Regions from separate parts of the Homo sapiens genome. Here regions 2 and 3 are each linked to region 1. Evidence: promoter capture Hi-C in human tissues and cell types (Jung and others, 2019). All regions are on one chromosome and are shown on one strand. Each heading gives the region's core, a stretch centred on a gene start or on the middle of the fragment in contact. The rest is flanking DNA. Distances are from core to core; before and after follow the strand shown.

Evidence for each region. The method cuts DNA at HindIII sites, captures the fragments that hold promoters and counts their contacts. A contact is called where the count stands out against the background at its distance.
Region 2: a contact is called between a fragment that was not itself captured here and the fragment with the promoter of LY6E in region 1, in 2 of the 25 tissues and cell types used here (dorsolateral prefrontal cortex and mesenchymal stem cells).
Region 3: a contact is called between a fragment that was not itself captured here and the fragment with the promoter of LY6E in region 1, in 1 of the 25 tissues and cell types used here (spleen).

The regions. Positions count from the first base shown.
Region 1 is chr8:143,016,886-143,020,204 of GRCh38, reverse strand. It overlaps LY6E (lymphocyte antigen 6 family member E), which reads right to left and starts at 1,676. Exons shown (of 4, transcript NM_002346.3): 1 at 1,619-1,676. LY6E-DT (LY6E divergent transcript) reads left to right here and starts at 1,815. Exons shown (of 2, transcript NR_026913.1): 1 at 1,815-2,045. The HindIII fragment of the contact is 17,617 bases long and covers 1-3,319 here.
Region 2 is chr8:142,704,658-142,707,714 of GRCh38, reverse strand. LY6K (lymphocyte antigen 6 family member K) reads right to left here. Exons shown (of 3, transcript NM_017527.4): 3 at 2,588-3,057. LNCOC1 (lncRNA associated with ovarian cancer 1) reads left to right here. Exons shown (of 3, transcript NR_038925.1): 3 at 136-3,057. Among named protein-coding and RNA genes, the nearest start is that of LY6K, 6.1 kb to the right of the region's middle. The HindIII fragment of the contact is 5,820 bases long and covers 1-3,057 here.
Region 3 is chr8:142,680,286-142,683,364 of GRCh38, reverse strand. PSCA (prostate stem cell antigen) reads right to left here and starts at 2,870. Exons shown (of 3, transcript NM_005672.5): 1 at 2,802-2,870; 2 at 1,931-2,038; 3 at 640-1,444. The coding sequence starts at 2,826. The coding sequence ends at 1,233. RefSeq lists an enhancer at 1,479-2,125. The HindIII fragment of the contact is 7,457 bases long and covers 1-3,079 here.

The sequences.
Region 1 (3,319 bases), core at 427-2,926:
TATTAGCTAATCTGTATCTAGAATTTTCCTTGGGATGGCTCAGTGTTTTGAGCCCAGGCAGCTCCCCTCACATGGAGACCTGGGGCCAGGTGGGGCATGGCTGAGGGGGAAAGCACTCCCCATTCCTGATGTTACTCAGTTCCGAGGAAAGCACCCCACTCAGTATCTGCTACTCCCCATTCTGTGGCTGGGAAATGGGCTCCGAGAGACAAGGCTGCGTGCCACTGGTCCCACCAGCAGGAAAGGGCCAGATGGGTCGCTGTACTGCTCCTCGGCCTCTGCACAGGACCCTCTGCACTGCTGGAGAAAGAATCTGGAACACACCCAGCTGGGGTCGTGATTCTCTGTTTTGTGAGTGCATGGTGTTGGAGGGGGAGGCTGCTGCCTTCTGTCAGGGACAGCCGTGGGCAGAGGAGTGGGAGGGACATCCCGGGCCTGGGGAGCTAGTGCTGGGCACTGGGGGTAAGGAGGATGCCTCAGAGAACAGATCTGGAGAGGGGCCCGCAGAGGCCCTAAGGGGAGAGCAGCAGGCCAGGACAGTGAGACCTGGGCTGACATCCTGGGGTTGGGAGTGGGAGCCCCAGGTGGCCAAAAACAGTGCCAAGTCCGGCTGGGGCCTATCCCCGCCTCCAGGGAGTAGCCCGAGGAGGAAGGATCTCCAATTCCTTTTCCCCCCACCCCCCTAAAGTGAGGTTCTGGTGTGGGGGGGTCCCTGAGCTGTCTCTGAGGAAGTCCTAGCATACAGGGCCACAAACAGGTCCAGCTGGTGCCGCCACCTGCTCACTGGGTGGCACCCAACCCGCTGGGCCACCAGGCTGAGCTAAGGCACCGGTGGGAGCCGAAGGCAATTAGGAAGGCCGGGTGGGCCATGGAGCCCGGAGGGAGCCAGCCGGCAGGCCGTGGGGGGCGCCCCTGGGGCCCAGGCTGCAGGCTCATGGCTCATCCCCAGGCTCAGGGAAGCTGGCCCCTGGGAGCCAGGTATCTAGGGGCTGCCCAGCCAGCAAGGGGCGGGAGCCTCTCCTGTGTCCCGGAACGGGGAGGGGCCCGGCGGTCCACTCAGGGAGGCTGGGCTCCTTGGACCTCACCGCAAGCACCACCAGTGCCAAAACAAGAAGCGGGGGCGGGTTCCAGTGCTCCGGGGTGATATGCCGGGGGCGGTCAATCCTCCCTTTCCGGCCAGGAGCTCTGCAAGGTCCCGTGCCCCCTCCCCTAGTCCTCAAGGCTGTCCCTCCCGGCCCACGTAGAGGAGCCAGGAGCGTCTGGAGTTGGGTGATGGGCTCCAGTGGCTGCGCAGCCCTGGGGCGGCCGGGAGGCTCCTGGCGGCAGTCTCCGCCCGCTCCCGCCCCAGATCTTTGGAAACATTCGGGGAGGCCTGCGGGGGATGGGAGGAGAAGCTCAGCTCTCTGGGGACCAACCCACCGGCAGCCCCAGCCCCTCTCCTGCGCCTCCCCGTGCGCCCCTCTTGCTCTCTCCCACCCTCTCCCGCCCCGGCCCCCGCAGGGCGCCTTCCGCCGCGCGTGGCTGAGCCGGGGCCGCGTGCACCGCAGCCGAGGCCGCCGGGTCTGAGCGCGTGCGCGCAGGTGGCGGGGGCGTCCCGGCCGGGGGCCCGCGGACTCACCGCCGGGCGGACGCAGGTACCAGCAGCCTGGCCGAGCTCCCCGAACCTCGCGCGCTCTGGACCGCGGCTGGCCCGGAGCCTCCCAGGCAGCCGCGCGGCCCCGGGGCGGGGGCAGGGGCGGGACGCGGGAGGGGCCTCCGGCGGGCGGAGTCGGCGAGCCCGCGGTGGGGGTCCCCGCGCCGCCCAGGCCTACCCCGGCTCCTTGGGATAGATGGGGAAGCTGAGGCCCAGAAGGGGGCTGAGACCACCTCCCAGTTTCCCCAGTGAGGTGGCGCCTGAGCCACGGCCAGGCCCGGCCTCCTTCCACCCGGCCCTGCTGTGCGCGCGGCGGGTGCTGACCTGGCGAGGCCGGACAGGGGACCAGGTCGGGGTGACCGTCACTGACACCTGGACAGTCCTCGTTGTGTTCGGGGTGGGAAGCCCACGGGTGAGCAGACGTGTTTGGGTGTGAGCACGGAGGAGGGGTGCCTCGGAGAGTGTCGGGGAGCAGTGTTGGGGGTCTCGCCTGCGGAGTGGAGCTCGGGAGGGGAGGACGCAGGCACCCCCGCAGCCTGGGATTCCTGAGGTCATCTTGTCCCTGCTTCCCGCTCCAGGCTGGGCTGTTCCTTGGCCATCCCTCAGGCGGGGGTGGGGAGACCGGCAAGGGTTGGGAGGTGGGAGGTTGTGGGTGCTGGCTTCTGCGAGGGCACTGAGGCTCTGCCATCGGTGGGTGCCTCTCCTCCCGCCAGGCCCTCTCCGAGGGGCTGTGGGCGCTGGGGCTCTGCCACCGGCCTGTTCTCCAGTTGACAGTGCGTTTCCTTTCTGGGTGACAGGGCGAGCACCAGGGAGGGGTCTTCTGAACCCCACACGGGAGTAGGGGGAGGGTGTGCGGAAATGTGAGGGTGGGCAGGTGGCCATGTGGTCAGGAGGGGGCTGGGGCTGACAGACACCTGTAACACCCCTGTCTCAAATCTAGGGGTGCAGTCAATGTGGCTGTGTGTGTGTTTTGCATGAGTGAGTGTGTGTGGTGCGTGTGTGTGTGTGTATGGAGGCTGAGGCTGGGGCTGTGTGTGTCACGAGATGTCCTGGCCGTGGTATGATGGCATCGTGGGTGGGGCTTCCACAGCTTTGGGGGCGATGGCCCAGCTGTCTCTGGGGACAGGAGCCTCCAGTAGGCTGTGGCCCGGGGGAGTCCCTGCCTCTGGGTCTTACGTGGGGCACAGGCAGGGCATCTTCCCCTCTGGAATGTTGGCGGTGAGGGCAGGGGGTTCTGTCTCTGCAGCCGGCACCTGGGGCCATCCCTGCCATGGCAGGGGCTCAGTAAGAACTGTGGGACGAAAGCACGGGTGGGTTTGCCCCCTTCAAGACAGGACCCTCTGATTCAGAAAACAAGCTGCATTAGGAGGAGGGCTGTTTGGAAAAAACTCTCAAACCATTTATCCTGTCTCTCACTCAACACAGAAGACATCAACACAGGAGACTCCCAAGACTGCTGGGGCCAAATGTGGCAGGTGGACGTCTCCCCGCCACCGAGCAAGCCATCAGTTCTGCAGCGGACACCAGCCGAGTGTCCTCCAACACCATTCCGGTACCTGCAGATAGCGTCAGATCCAGACACCTACACACACACACACACACACACACACACACACATATGCACACACATGAGCTGCGAGGGCCAGCCTCTGGAACTTCTTACCGACTGGCCCGACGTTGAGGTTC
Region 2 (3,057 bases), core at 161-2,660, 310 kb after region 1:
GTGCTTGAGATAGAAAGGCATTTCAGAGACCTGGACATGTTTGTTTGACCAAGCAGAGCTTTCAGAAAGTCTAGCTGTTTGGAAATTTATGAATTACTTCATGTGTATTACAGGAGGGTCGTTTTCTGTTTTCAGAGATCAAGACATGAAACCCATGTTCAAGATACTTTCCAGTGTGTCTTCATGTGATCCTCTGAGTCCAGCCATCAGGCTACCAGCAGCTCTTGGAAACCCTGACATACTTATTCTTAGAAGACTGCTTTCCGGACTCAAAGTGGAACCTCAAATTTTCAATTTTCTTTGTTTTTAAAGCCTACACATAGGTGATGATATATACATGCATATATATTTTGGAGAATTTATAATTCTGAAAACAATGCTGGTCTTATGGAACCCATCCATTCCCCTTTCCCCGTGTGTGCTCCGAGCTGTGGTGGCACGTGAAAAGGGGTCCTTCCAGCAGTGGCCCACAGCCCTGGGCTGCTTACTTGCTCACTTCATTTACAAGAGCAAGAAATACACATTCTTGTGTTGTTTAAGTCATTATGATGTGGGGATTTCCATTACTCACACACCTGATCTAGTAGTAACACAGTAGCCTATTTTAGCAATATCATTTATTCAATAATCCATTCTTTCCCCATTAGTTTTGAGCCTTCATTTATTGTGTACTAAGTTCTGGTTATTTTTAGTGGTTGTAATCTCCTTCTTTCCTACTCTCTTAATCATGGGATTGCCAATATCTGCTCTGTGTTTCTGTGCCATCTATAGCCTCTGGCCTTGGTACTGCTTCAAAACTGATATTTCTAACCTTACTTTGACTTCTCCATTCAGTGAAGTTCCCATAGTTCATCACTCAACTGCTCTCTTTCCATCGTGACCTTCTGAACTAGCTCACACCCAGATGTACTTTTGTTATCTGCCTTTCCCCCTCATAAACATGGGCTGCTGCTGGGGAAAATCCACTACCGAACTCTTGCAGGTCTCTGCAAATGTTTAATGCCCTGTCTTAGCCATGACCTCCACAATGCTGGGCTATCCTATGTTATGTCCCCTAAGATATCCCTTCTCTCTTACCTTTGGGGATAGTCCTAAGCTTCCATCATGGCACTCAAAGTCCAACCTTATTTGTACCCTCATTCTCTGAGCAGACACCACCGTATTCTGTTTCACAGAGAAAATGTGACTGCTGGGGATAATTCTTTCAACTTCCTGGCCTCTTCCTATACATGATCTTTCTCTGTATTCTTGCCTATTGCTCTTCCATGTTGATAGAAGTGTCTGTTCTCCTTGTCAGTGTCTCGGCCTTGGATCTGTCCCCTAGACTATTCTGCCTGTGTAAGGACCTTCCCTGACCAGCTGGGCCACCATCTCCTGCTTCTCCAATCCCTCACTCTAGACTGACTCTTAACCTTTGGTCAACAATACTTGAGCTTTTACATTCATAATGGAGCATCTGTGTTGAACCTTGTTCTTTTCTAGACACTACCCTCCGTTCTGTCTTCCATCCATGGTGACTTTTCTAGAAAGAGCATCTATCACACTGGAGACAGCAAACTCCTTGATCCATTCTAATTCCTAACCCTGCAATAATTTTCTATCTCCCTTACTCAAGTAATTGGGAGTGCTCCTAGTGTTACCAGAGACCCAGCAGTTCCCAATTTCGAATTTTTCCGTATTCACATTTCTTGACTTGCTATGATTTTACATCACAGATTACATCCTTCATTTGAAGAGACTCTAATGGAAGGCTGCCATGGAAACTCTCTCATGTGGCTGACCTCCTACCTCACTTGCTCTTTCTGAATGAAGTTCCCACTTTTGCCTGCCTTAATGAAAGTAATGCTCCCCAAACTCAAGCCCAGGGCTGCGAATTGGAAGCAGCTGGGGCTACTGTTTCTGGGTGCTGGTGTGAATGGCAGGATGTGAACACCAGCCTGTGACGGGCAAAAAGATGGACACACAGGCAGAGCCTGACAGGTGCTGGTGGTCCTATCTGGTCCTGAGTTGCTGGGACCCTCCTTGCCCACTGCCCCTAGAATGGACTTTGGCCTCAGGTTCGAAGTGTTCAGATGTGACTGAGATGAGCCTTTTCCCCATGCCTCAGGAATAGCGAAGAAACTCTATCTGGAAGGTTCCCCAGGCTTCCCCACCCAGCAGCCTCTGGTATTAGACCAGGCAGTGGCTGGCCAGGATGGTGGGGACAGAAGGGAGACAAAGGTGAGCAGTGGGTGGGGTCACATCCTCCCTGACATTGAATAGACAACATGGGGAGGAAGGATGAGTGATCTTTAGAATGTTCATGGAAAATGCATATTGGGAAAAAGAATGCATGAATTTCAAATTGTTTTGCAACAAAATAAACTTGTACTAACTTGTGAAAACACGTCCGAACAGGATCTAGTTTGAGGCCCTAAGAAGTATAAGACAACAGTTTGAACAGAGCTCCTATCAGACACATGAATTCTGCTAAAATTGAAACCAGAACAAACATGCAATTGATGGTGAAGCTTGGCTGGAAACATGGTGAAATCATTGATGATTTATTGAAAGTTTATAGGGACAATGCCTCAAAGAAATCAGCAATTTAAGTAAGTGGATAACTCATTGGAAGAAGAGAAGAGATGATGTTGGAGAGGAAGTCCACAGCAGCAGGCCAGCCACATCAGTCTGTGAGGAAACAATTCATCTTGTTTGTGCCCTAATTTAAGAGGACTGATTAATAGCAGCAGAAACAATAGCCAACGCTGTAGGTATCCCAAGGTGTTCAGCTTACACAATTCTGACTGAAATTAAAGTTGAGTAAACTGTCCACTCGGTGGGTGCCAAAACTTTCTCCCAGCTCAGCTGCAGATAAGAGAAAAGCGTTCTATGGCCATTTTAAACAAGTGGAATCAAGATCCTGAAGCATTTCTTCATATAATTATAGCCGGAGATGAAATGTGGCTTAACCAGTACACTCCTGAAGGCAAAGCACAAGCAAAGCAATGACTACCTAGAGGTGGGCGTGGTCCCATCAGAGTAAAAGCAGACATGTCAAGGGCAAAGGTCGTGGCA
Region 3 (3,079 bases), core at 431-2,930, 340 kb after region 1:
CCCAGGTCACAGGCTGCACCCCTAGCCCTAGGGCGGGAAGCAGGCTGTGTGCAAAAGGCTTCCCCTGAGCGCAGAAGGCAAGTGTGGATGGTGTCCTCCCACTCAGGGGCCTGGGGATGCTCACGGGGCACAGATTCTCCCAGAAAGAAGCCTCTGGAGGTGTAATGGGCACCCCAGAGAGGGAAGGCGCTGGGGTTCAGGGTTGGGGGAGGCCACCTGTCACCGGGGACCCTGCTGTAGTGTTTGAATGCTGTATGGTGGGTGTGCAGCTCTAAAACAAATTTTGAAAAATGGGGGTGCTCAAATCAGGCCAAGGGGATGGGTAGGAGCTTGAATGGTAGCAGTCCCTCCCCCCGGAACGCTCTCCTTCCTGTGAACTTTCTGGGTCCATCCTCCCAGCAAGGAGGGGTCATAGATGAGTCGCAAGGCTCAGAGAGGTCTGGCCACATGCTCCAGGCAGCACAGCAAGTGCAAGTCCTGGGAACTGCCCTCCCACCCTCTGCAGGGACGTCCTCCTTTCAGGGGCCAAGCTTTGCTCCTGTTAGGGCGGAGGCTGCAGCCCATGTGACCAGGGCCCTGGTCCAGACACAGCCCTGGATCCGGTGCCCGCCTGGGGTGTGCAAGGACAGAGGGTCTCTCTGGCTTATCCAACAGGTGTTTATTAAGGGCCTACGCTGTGCTGAGGCTGCCATTCAGGGAGCCCCACGAATGTGAGGCCTGGCCCCTTCCTCCAGGCCTCCAGGCCCCATCTCTGGAGACTCCCAGGAACTCACGTCGACTCCTGTCCTCCAGTTCTACTCAGTCCACTTCATCTCAGCCTTTACCGGGCCCTCCTGAGTGCCTGTCCCCTGCTGGGTGCGGGGGACACCACGGACCAGACCTGGCTCAAGTCATAGATGGGGTGGGCAGGGAAGGCTTCCTGGGGGAAGAGGTGCCTGAGCACAGGGTTAAGGGTGGAGAATGCTGGGCCATGGAAACAGCAGCAGAGAGGGTTGGAGGGGCCATCTGCAGGCGGATCTGTGTCAATAGAGCCGATCTGCCGGGTGGGAGTCCTGGAGAGGGCCATGGGAGGGTCAGGGTGGGGGACAGGGGCGCAGACATACATGGTCAGACTTGCGTTAGGATGTGCCTCAGGAACCAGGACAGGCTCCCACTGGGCCGGGTGTGTGAGGAGTGGCACAGAGGCCTGGGGCACCACACCCAGTGTGGGCTGCAGCGGGGCCCCCCAGAGCCTAGAGCTGGCCGGGTCCCCAGAGCAGCAGGCCGAGTGCAGGGAGCAGCGCAAGGATGGCAGCAGCCGGCTGCAGGGCATGGGCCCCGCTGGCGTTGCACAAGTCGGTGTCACAGCACGTGATGTTCTTCTTGCCCACGTAGTAGTCCTGTGAGTCATCCACGCAGTTCAAGCTGCAGCCTTTGCTGATGACGGTCAGGAGGCCAACTGCGCCTGGGGAGCAGCGGGATCCGGGGATGGGGCTGCCCTGTGTGCTCACCTGCCTGACCTGCCCCAGGCCTCCTCCTGTCCCACCCTGCCTAATGCTCTAGAGTCCCCCTGGGCTGGCCTCAGGATTGCAAGCAGTGCGAGGGCCTGGTCTCGGCCCTGGTCTCAGCCCTATCCAGATGTCCGAGGCAGATGGACCACCCGCTGAGCGTCAGAAATGGGGTGAGTGAGTAAGTGAGCTCAGGGATGGGGAGGGACAGATGGGTGGAGGAGTGGAAGATGGAGGATGGGGAGGGACAGATGAGTGGAGGAGTGGCAGATGGAGGAGGATGGCTGGAGGGACAGATGCTGGGTGATTGTTGGGGGTGCAGGTGCGGGACGGGTCGGGGACAGGTGGAAGGAAAACAGCACACAGATGCGGACAGATGGCCAGAAAGATTAATAGTTCAGTGGCAGAGACCTAGGCCTGGCGGCTGTCGTCCCCCCACTCACGGATGCGCGCGGTCCAGCACTGCTCCCCCAGCTGGGTGCAGTTCTCCACCTGCAGGCAGTCCTCGTTGCTCACCTGGGCTTTGCAGGAGTAGCACAGCAGGGCAGTGCCTGTGGGGTGGAGTGGGAGGGGCCTCAGAGGCTGCCCCATAGCACTCCCCAGGAATGGGGGCTCCCAGGCAGGTGGGCCTCCATGGCGGTGGCCTGAGGAAGTCCTCGGCGCCCTCTTGTCACCCTCAATGTCTCCTCCCCATCTTCACGGCCCCCTGCTCAGTGCCTCCGAAATGTTGCCCTGTTTAGTCCCTCGGTGGCTGCTTTTGTGACCGTGTGTTTCAGAAGAGGAAGCTGCGGCTGTGGGGGTGACTGAACCCGGGACCCTGGGTCGGGAGGGTCCCACCTCAAGCAGAGCAGCTCCCTGGGACCCTTGGAAGCTGCAGTGCTGGGACTGGGCCGGATGTAGACCCCCGGGTCCTCGCAGGACACCCCCAGCACCTCCCCCTTGTGCCCCAAAAACCACTTCTTAGCCTGAGGCTTCCTGTCCCATGTCTCCCAGCTCCTCATCAGCATCTCTGCCCATCCATCCGTCAGTCTGTCTACCTGCCCCCTAGGAGCCAGGCCCTGCCCCACGGTGGTGAAGGAGAGTGACTCCGTGCTGCCCCTGCAAGCCCCGGTCACAGGGGACGGCAGGGAACAGGTCGCTGCCTGGTCGTGCCAAGAGCTTCCCTGGAGGAGCGGAGGCTAGGGCAAGAGCCTCACCCCCTTCCTCTCCCTTCCTCCTTCCTTCCCCTCCTCTCCGTGTGCCCTGCAGGTATCCCTCTGGCCTCCCCGGCTCACCCCTGCTCCCTTCCCTGCTGGGGGCCAGCCAAGGCCTCACCTGGCTGCAGGGCCAAGCCTGCCATCAACAGGGCAAGCAGCACAGCCTTCGTGGTCACTGGTGGGCTGTGGTGGAGAGGGCCTCAGGTGACTTTATATGGCCTCAAATGGGGAGAGGCTGGACTGCCCACAGTCAACACCAGCGGGTTTCCTGGAGCCAGTGAGGGCCCCGGGGCTGGGCAGGTCCGAGTCTCCTCCCTGAGCGACCTGCACCTCCCTCTCCCTTTGTCCTTCTTTCCACCTCTGGAGGACAGAGCCTACCCAGGGCCATATCTCAGC